3 separate regions of the Homo sapiens genome follow, and all the other regions are linked to region 3. The links are contacts of gene promoters, found by promoter capture Hi-C in blood cells and fetal thymus (Javierre and others, 2016). All regions are on one chromosome and are shown on one strand. The core of a region is centred on a gene start or on the middle of the fragment in contact, and the rest is flanking DNA. Distances in the headings are between cores, read along the strand shown. Region 1 overlaps CDKN2AIPNL (CDKN2A interacting protein N-terminal like). Region 2 overlaps UBE2B (ubiquitin conjugating enzyme E2 B). Region 3 holds the start of SAR1B (secretion associated Ras related GTPase 1B).

What was found. Contacts are between HindIII fragments. The CHiCAGO score rates a contact against its expected background, and 5 or more counts as called.
Region 1: a contact is called between a fragment that was not itself captured here and the fragment with the promoter of SAR1B in region 3, in 5 of 17 cell types (total CD8 T cells, activated CD4 T cells, naive CD8 T cells and 2 more). The highest score is 7.8, in total CD8 T cells.
Region 2: a fragment that was not itself captured here is called in contact with the fragment with the promoter of SAR1B in region 3 in 4 of 17 cell types (activated CD4 T cells, megakaryocytes, M0 macrophages and 1 more); the score reaches 5.4 in activated CD4 T cells.

The regions. Positions count from the first base shown.
Region 1 is chr5:134,407,972-134,410,671 of GRCh38, forward strand. CDKN2AIPNL (CDKN2A interacting protein N-terminal like) reads right to left here. Exons shown (of 3, transcript NM_080656.3): 2 at 1,932-2,031. Among named protein-coding and RNA genes, the nearest start is that of CDKN2AIPNL, 2.6 kb to the right of the region's middle. The HindIII fragment of the contact is 868 bases long and covers 842-1,709 here.
Region 2 is chr5:134,388,826-134,391,525 of GRCh38, forward strand. UBE2B (ubiquitin conjugating enzyme E2 B) reads left to right here. Exons shown (of 6, transcript NM_003337.4): 6 at 1,400-2,700. The coding sequence ends at 1,528. Among named protein-coding and RNA genes, the nearest start is that of UBE2B, 19 kb to the left of the region's middle. The HindIII fragment of the contact is 476 bases long and covers 1,197-1,672 here.
Region 3 is chr5:134,631,561-134,634,260 of GRCh38, forward strand. It overlaps SAR1B (secretion associated Ras related GTPase 1B), which reads right to left and starts at 1,268. Exons shown (of 7, transcript NM_016103.4): 1 at 1,168-1,268. RefSeq lists silencers at 980-1,089, 1,140-1,189 and an enhancer at 1,163-1,719. The HindIII fragment of the contact is 3,405 bases long and covers 193-2,700 here.

The sequences.
Region 1 (2,700 bases), core at 26-2,525, 220 kb before region 3:
AATACAAAAATTAGCTGGGTATGGTGGCACCCGGCTGTAATCCCAGCTACTGGGGAGGCTGTGGCGCTAGAATCACTTGAGCCTGGGAGGCAGAGGTTGCAGTGAGCTGAGATCGTGCCACTGCACTCCAGCCTGGGTGACAAAGTGAGCCTCTATCTAAAAAATAAATTAAAAATAAAGGCTCACCTCATTCCCTGCCTACCTCTGCCCCTGCCCCTGCCCCATAAGGTATACTCCAGTAGCCAGAAACTATCTAGCTCCTCCCTGGCTGGGCCCCAAGAACCTTACTATAGAACACCCAAGGACTGCCCAGTATTTTTTTAAGTATTACATGAGAAGATCCAAAAAGCCACACACTCCCAATTCACACTGCTCCCTGGCTAAAAACAGTAGCCCCTTTTTAACAGCTGATTTTAGTCCTGGTGCGGTGGCTCACACCTGTAATCCCAGCACTTTGGGAGGCCGAGGCGGGCGGATCACGAGGTCAGGAGATCGAGACCATCCTGGCTAACACGGTGAAACCCCGTCTCTACTAAAAATACAAAAAAAAAAAAAAAAAAAAAATTGGCTGGGCGTGGTGGCAGGCGCCTGTAGTCCCAGCTACTCAGGAGGCTGAGGCAGGAGAATGGTGTGAACCTGGGAGGCAGAGCTTGCAGTGAGCCCAGATCGCACCACCTCACTCCAGCCTGGGCGACACAGGGAGACTCCCTCTCAAAAACAAACAAACAAACAAACAAAAACAAAAAAACAGCTGATTTTACTTACTGATTTTTTGTCAGGAGTACTGTGTTGAGGTAACAGCTGATTTTAAAACATAATAGCATCTCGAAAACCAACCTGAAGCTTTTCCCCAGGTTCAGATTAAAACTAAAAGAATACTTTTTTAAGAAAAACAAACCATCCTGAAAATCAAGTGGGGTGTACTATTTGGGACTGAAATACTTTATGAGCAACTGAGAATCTGATTAGTTCCTTGACACCCATATGGAAGAGGACCTCTATATGTGCCCCACCTCCCAAGACAAGACCTAAATGTGGAGGAATGGGCTTACCTATGTTTCTAAGGGCAGACCTAAAAAGGGGCCAGCAGCTTTTTACTCTACTGCTTCAGTCGATTTTATAAGTATTTTCTGAGTACCTTCTCTGGGGTATAAGTATACTAGGTTTGGGAGTTGTAAAGACTAAATAGAACTTTAGACACCATCTGTAAGGTCACAACTGCTTTAAAAGAGCCCTGGATAAAGTGCCAAAGGAACTTCAGAAGATAAGCGAGCAATTAATTCTGCTGCCTGAGCAGACAAATGTGAAACAAGCATGTTTTGGAGGTGATTCTGAAAAGTATTAATAGCTGGGATGCCCAGCTCCATATTCTGAGGTTCTTTCTGCCACATTCTGTAGCCCCAGCTCCAGTGTCCAGATTCAAGACTCTAGGCAAGACTCACTGTAAAAAGCCCATCGCCTGAGATCAGACCCCAAAGGGTAGAGAACAGCTATGCCATCGACATTGCTCCAGGCACGTTCTTATCAGCAAATCACAGAAGCCAAACAAGTCAGGTCGGCACTCACACCGGCACTCACACCTGGGGTAAGGATGAGTCTTACCAATGAGATTTTTTAACAAGTAGGAAACTTAAGTATTCTAGCCAACATCTTTTTAAACATCAAGCAAAAATCTCAAAACAATGTTCCTAAACAACCGGAAGAGGTTAAGCTTATGTGTTACCTCATCAACAATGCATAATTTACCACAGTGAGTTGTCAACTATTTATGAAAAGGCTTATACCAATTATGGGGAAATAAAAATGAAAGGGTATAGGTCTTTGGGGCAGTAAAGAGCATTCAAAAACAATATACTCTAATATAGTGTCATCAAGGCAGGGACTGTTAACTCTACACCATTTCATCACATGCACTTGGAAATCCTATTTACCTTTTTCATTAATTCACTTCTGGTAGTAAATTGTGGCAGGTCTTCCACTTCAATCCCATCGGCCATTTCCATCACCTTGTCTAAAAGGTCTTTATTGTAACTGCACAATAAAAAGTAGTAAGGTAAAAACCTTGGAACAATTGTCACTGTGGATTAATAAGAAACTGCAGGTTGCTCAACTATAAAATCAGCTCTCAGAGAACTGACCTGATACTGCAGGGCAAACCTATACATGTTCCCCACAAGGTTTTGAGATGGAGTCTTGCTCTGTCCCCCAGGTTGGAGTGCAGTGGTGTGATCTCGGCTCACTGCAACCTCCACCTCCCAGGTTCAAGCAATTCTCCTGCCTCAGCCTCCCGAGTAGCTGGGATTACAGGCGTGTGCCACCACGCCTGGCTAATTTTTTATTTTTAGTAGAGACAGGGTTTCACCATGTTGGCCAGGCTGGTCTCCAACTCCTGACCTCAAGTGATCCTCCTCCCAAAGTGCTAGGATTACTGGCGTGAGACACCGTGCCTGGCCCTGTGAACACTTCTTGCTTGTAGATACAGAAGTGGACTTCAGAAATACCAGTACAGCAGATGTTTCAAGATTTAGAAGAACAGAGGCACTGTACATCCAGCAACAGATATTCTCAGATACAGGATGAGGACCAAAATATTTTTATTTTTTAAATACATGGAATGTTAGTCTAACAAAAACATTATTTATTTCCCCAATTCTCTGACATTTGCCTAACCATGGAAAACCAGGATTTCCCAGGAGCACC
Region 2 (2,700 bases), core at 185-2,684, 240 kb before region 3:
TGAAAATTTAGGAGGGGTGGAGTGAGGGGTGTTTCGGTTTTGTGGATTTGAGAGGAGCAGAAATAATATGTTGGTTTGTGATGTTCTTTTTAAAGTTTTTTCTCTCACACTTCTTTAATTGTTTTTTTTTTTTTTTTTTTTTTTGAGACAGTGTCTTGCTCTGTTGCCCAGACTGGAGTGCAATGGCACAATCTTGGCTCACCGCAACCTCTGCCTCCCGGGTTCAAGTGATTATCCTGCCTCAGCCTCCTGAGTAGCTAGGACTATAGGCACATGCTACCACGCCTGGCTAAGTTTTTGTATTTTTAGTAGAGATGGGGTTTCACAGTGTTAGCCAGGATGGTCTCCATCTGACCTCATGATCCGCCCGTCTGAGCCTCCGAAAGTGTTGGGATTACAGGCGTGAGCTACTGCACCAGGCCAGTTCTGGTCATCTTACAAGCGTTGTTTTTCAACCTTCCTATCTCATTCTCTTCCTGCTAAATGTATATGTTTTGTTGATTAAAGGAAATAAGACTTATCTCCCAAATTTACTGTCAAGACATTTGCAAAGTAACTGCAGTAATAGAGTTTAACCTTGGAAAATGTTGGTTACTGAGAATTATTGATATCTTAACCAAATTAAGCTGTTTATTTCCTTGGTTTAATGAGAACGTCTCAATATGCTTAAGAATATTCTTTTCTGATTTCTTTCAAATTATAGGTATTTTTTTCTTTTCTTTTTTCTTTTTTTTTTTTTTGAGACGGAATTTCACCCTTGTTGCCCAGGCTGGAGTACAGTGGCGCGATCTCAGCTCACTGCAACCTCTGCCTCCCGGGTTCAAGCAATTCTCCTGCCTCAGCCTTCCGAGTAGCGGATTACGGGCATGCGCCACCACACCCGGCTAATTTTGTATTTTTAGAAATTACGGGGTTTTCTCCATGTTGGTCAGGCTGGTCTCGAACTCCCTACCTCAGGTGATCTGCCCGCCTCGGCCTCCCACAGTGCTGGGATTACAGGCGTGAGCCACCACACCCGACCTCTTTTTCTTTTTTAATAGAAACAGGGTCTCCCTATGTTGCCCAGGCTGGGCTTGAACTGCTGGGCTCAAGGGATCCTCCTGCCTTGGCCTCCCAAAGTGTTAGGATTACAGGCACAAGCCACTGTACCCAGCTGAAATTATAGGTCTTAAGGCAATTGAGAACTTTATTTCAGAAGCTTAAGTTCCTTAGCAGCAGGAAACCCCATAGTATTTATCAAATCATTTCTAAAAGTATTTAGACCCAAAATTATATGACATGTTAATCTCTGAAGTAATTTGTTGTTTTGTATAACTTTTCTGTAATATATTCCATATCTGACCCCTGTTGGTATAAAGAACAACTATGCAAATCTGTTTTTTCTTTTCTTTCCTCCTAGTCTCTGCTGGATGAACCGAATCCTAACAGTCCAGCCAATAGCCAGGCAGCACAGCTTTATCAGGAAAACAAACGAGAATATGAGAAAAGAGTTTCGGCCATTGTTGAACAAAGCTGGAATGATTCATAATAGACAACTGGTCTGTTAATCTTTTTCATCATTGTTGTGTATAATTTACCTCTCATTAGAAAGGCTAACAAATTTTAAGTGCCACAGGTTTTAAGGATTCTGCAGAAAAAAAAGAAAAAAGTCCTTCAGTTTAGAACCTACAAAAGCTTGTGTATCTTGATTAATGTACTTTTTATTGCATGGTGTGAACTAAGTTATTGCTGCATAAATTTGTAATATATCCTGTTTGTATTTTTTTCCAAGTGTATAATGTTGGTGTGGAGTTTTCATGACAGAATATACACATTTTGTAAATCTGTACTTTTTTCAAATATTGAATGCCTTATTTTTGAATTCTTTAGATTTTTAAATTGGAGAAAAGCACTTAAAGTTTTTTATATATGAATATTACATGTAAAGCTGTTAAAATACATAACTTCAGTGCAAGAGACTTTGTCACTTATTTCCTTATGTGTGTAGGAGGGGTTAATAAGTCTCTAGCTCTCCATCTATTGATAGTTTCATTTACAATTTCAAAAGAACATTCTTATATTTTATCAAGGAAGTCTTCAAATTTGATTCTAAATAGCGATTATAATCTCCAACTTTATTTTGAATGTACCTCTATTAGTTTCAATTGAGTAATTCTAGACATAACTGGTTTGACTCTGTCCAACTCTGTATTTAGGCCATTTGTTACAGTTTCTTCATGCATTACTTACTGTTAAAACTGTACCTTTTGCGATTTCACAGTTGGCACTTCTGCCATGAGCAGAGAACTGATGCGACTTGTTTTGCTGCTTGGTAGCACTTTAAAAAATTTTTTGATTAATGAAGAAAGTAAAACCATAAACATTTGCCAAAAATTCATGCCCCAGTATTAGCAATGAATTAGTTGCATTGGTTTGAGAAAGGCACATATTGGAGGGAAATCTTGGTGTAACTTAAATATTTGAAAATTACCTTTAATGCAATGCATATCTGTTTATTCTGGGAAATGTTTTAATGCCAGGGCCTGCTGAGTTGCTTCTTCTTGTGGAGATTTTTTTTTTAATCTCCTGAGTTGTATAAAAGTTGTACTGCATCTTAGTTTACTGGATAAATTTAAAACACAGTATTGTAGAAAGCTAATACAAAACTATCCTATGCCTTCAAATAGTATAGAAAATGGAAAATATACAAGTAAATTCTGT
Region 3 (2,700 bases), core at 18-2,517:
AGACACTTAGTAATATAGAGGCTGATGTAAGAACACACAAATAAATAATACTATGTTTAATTTTTCAAGTTAAAAGGACTTCTTCACCTCATTTTGTCCACTGTACCAAACACCTTAAATTGCTGACGAATTTGGTTCTTTCAGCTAACAATGTCAAAGTTTTAGCTGTTTTAAAACAAATCTTCTTGGAAAAGCTTCAACACCTTAAAAATCAGTACAGTGGCCCACTGAGGTGGCTCATGCCTTTAATCCCAGCACTTTGGGAGGCCGAGGCGAGCAGATCACCTGAGGTCAGGAGTTGGAGACCAGACTGGCCAACATAGAGAAATCCCATCTCTACTAAAAATAGAAAAGTTAGACCGGATGCGGTGGCTCACGCCTATAATCCCAGCACTTTGGGAGGCCGAGGCAGGCGGATCACGAGGTCAGGAGATAAGAGACCATCCTGGCTAACACGGTGAAACCCCATCTCTACTAAAAAATACAAAAAAATTAGCGGTGCGTGGTGGCGGGCACCTGTAGTCCCAGCTACTCGGGAGGCTGAGGCAGGAGAATGGCGTGAACCCGGGAGGCGGAGCTTGCAGTAAGCCGAGATCGTGCCACTTCACTCCAGCCTGGGCGACAAGAGGGAAACTCTGTCTCAAAACAACAACAAAAATTTAAAAAATTAAAACAAAAATCAGTACAGTTTTCTCAACAGTGTATCTTTTTTCCACTTAACTGGGACTTTGGGCTACGGAAAACGTTAACCAGTACTAGTAAGGAAGCTCAATTTGCCTCTACACTAATTGGGAGCGCTGAAAACACCAGGCCGTGTCACAGCCTCTTCAGCTGTCAGTGAGACCCGCCACCTTCACCTTACCAGGTAAGGAAACTGAGGCCCAGGGGAAGGAAGGGGCTTGCCTGCAGCCACCTCGTTCTTTCCTGAAAAGACCAAGCGTCTGACAGCAGCAGTGTTCTGCCTCGAGGGCTATCAGACGGCCCCGCGGAGCATGGATGAGACCTGTCCTCCCTCGCGCCGCCTAACCCCGGGGTGAAAAACAGGCGCCCCTTCACGCAGTGCCACAGGCAGGGACTCAGAGTAGGTCTTGGCCCTAAAAGTGCGCCTTCTAGGGGATCCATAGCTGCTGCCCACCGGTCCTCCCAGAAGGAGGGGCTGTCACTCACCTGCGACTGGAGGGAACGCAATCCCCTACTTGGCGTTGGCCGTACACCAGGAGACCGAACTGCAAAGCGCGATGGCTGCCGTGGCCCCAGTTCGCATCAGCCCCTTCCGGGCCGGCGGGTGCCTCACTAGCGACAGTCCGCAGGACCGCGTCGCCGAGCGCCCTAGGTTCCGCCTCCTGGCAGTCTTGCCGCCAATTCCCCAGTTGAGCGAGGCTGCTCGCAACCCCTAACACCGCCTGGGTCTCCCAGCCGCCTGGTCTCCCCACACCCGCCCGCCCGAAGGGATTTTAGGGGCCTGCGTGCCGAGAAAGGAACACCCCATGCCTCCCTAGGGGAAATTACTTTTGGCATTTTTTTTTTTTGAGACGTTGTCTCGCTCTGTCTCCCAGGCTGGGGTGCAGTGGCACGATCTCGGCTCACTGCAGCCTCCACCCCCTGGATTCAAGAGATTCTCCTACCTCAGCCTCCCCAGTAGCGGGGACTACAGGCACCCGCCACCACTGTCCGGCTAATTTTTTTTTTTTTTGAAACGGAGCCTCGATTTTGTCGCCCAGGCTGGAGTGCAATGGCGCGATCTCAGCTCACTGTAACCTCCGCCTCCCGGGTTCAAGCGATTCTTCTACCTCAGCCTCCTGAGTAGCTGGGAGCACAGGCGCGCACCACCATGCCCGGCTAATTTTTGTATTTTTAGTAGAGACGGGGTTTCACCATGTTGGCCAGGCTGGTCTCGAACTCTTGACCTAAAGTGAACCGCCCGCCTCGGCCTCCCAAAGTGCTAGGATTACAGGCGTGAGCCACTGCGCCCGGCTAATTTTTGTATTTTTAGTAGAGACCGGGTTTCATCATGTTGGCCAGGCTGGTCTCAAACTCCCTAGCATAAGTGATCCACCTGCCTCAGCCTCCCAAAGTGCTGGGATCACCACCGCGCCCTGCCTAAAATACATTTTCAAAGTACACGTGCTTATTGAATTCATTTTTTTTTCTTTTTTTGTTATTTGTGCTTATTGAATTCACCAGTGATTTACACAATGTAGCTACGTACCAGATAATGTGTTGGATGCTGGTTATTCAGCTTTTATTCAGCTGGTTATTCAGTTGTTTTATAGACGGTCTTGGCCAGGCGCGGTGGTTCACACCTGTAATCTCAGCACTTTGGGAGGTCAAGGTGGGTGAATCACCTGAGGTTAGAGTTCAAGACCAGCCTGGCCAACATGGTGAAACCCCATCTCTACAAAAATACGAAAATTACCCAGGCATGATGGCAGGTGCCTGTAACGCCAGCTACTCGGTAGGCCGAGGCAGGAGAATTGCTTGAACCCGGGAGGTGGAGGTTGCAGTGAGCCGAGATTGCACCATTGCACTCTAGCCTGGGCGACAGAGCGAGACTCTGTCTCCGTCTCAAAAAATAAATAAATTAATTAAATTAAAAATAAATTTAAAAATTATATATATATATAGACGGTCTTGCTCTTTCTCCCAGGCTGGAGTCCAGTGGTGCTATCATAGCTCACTGCAGCCTCAATCTCTTGGGCT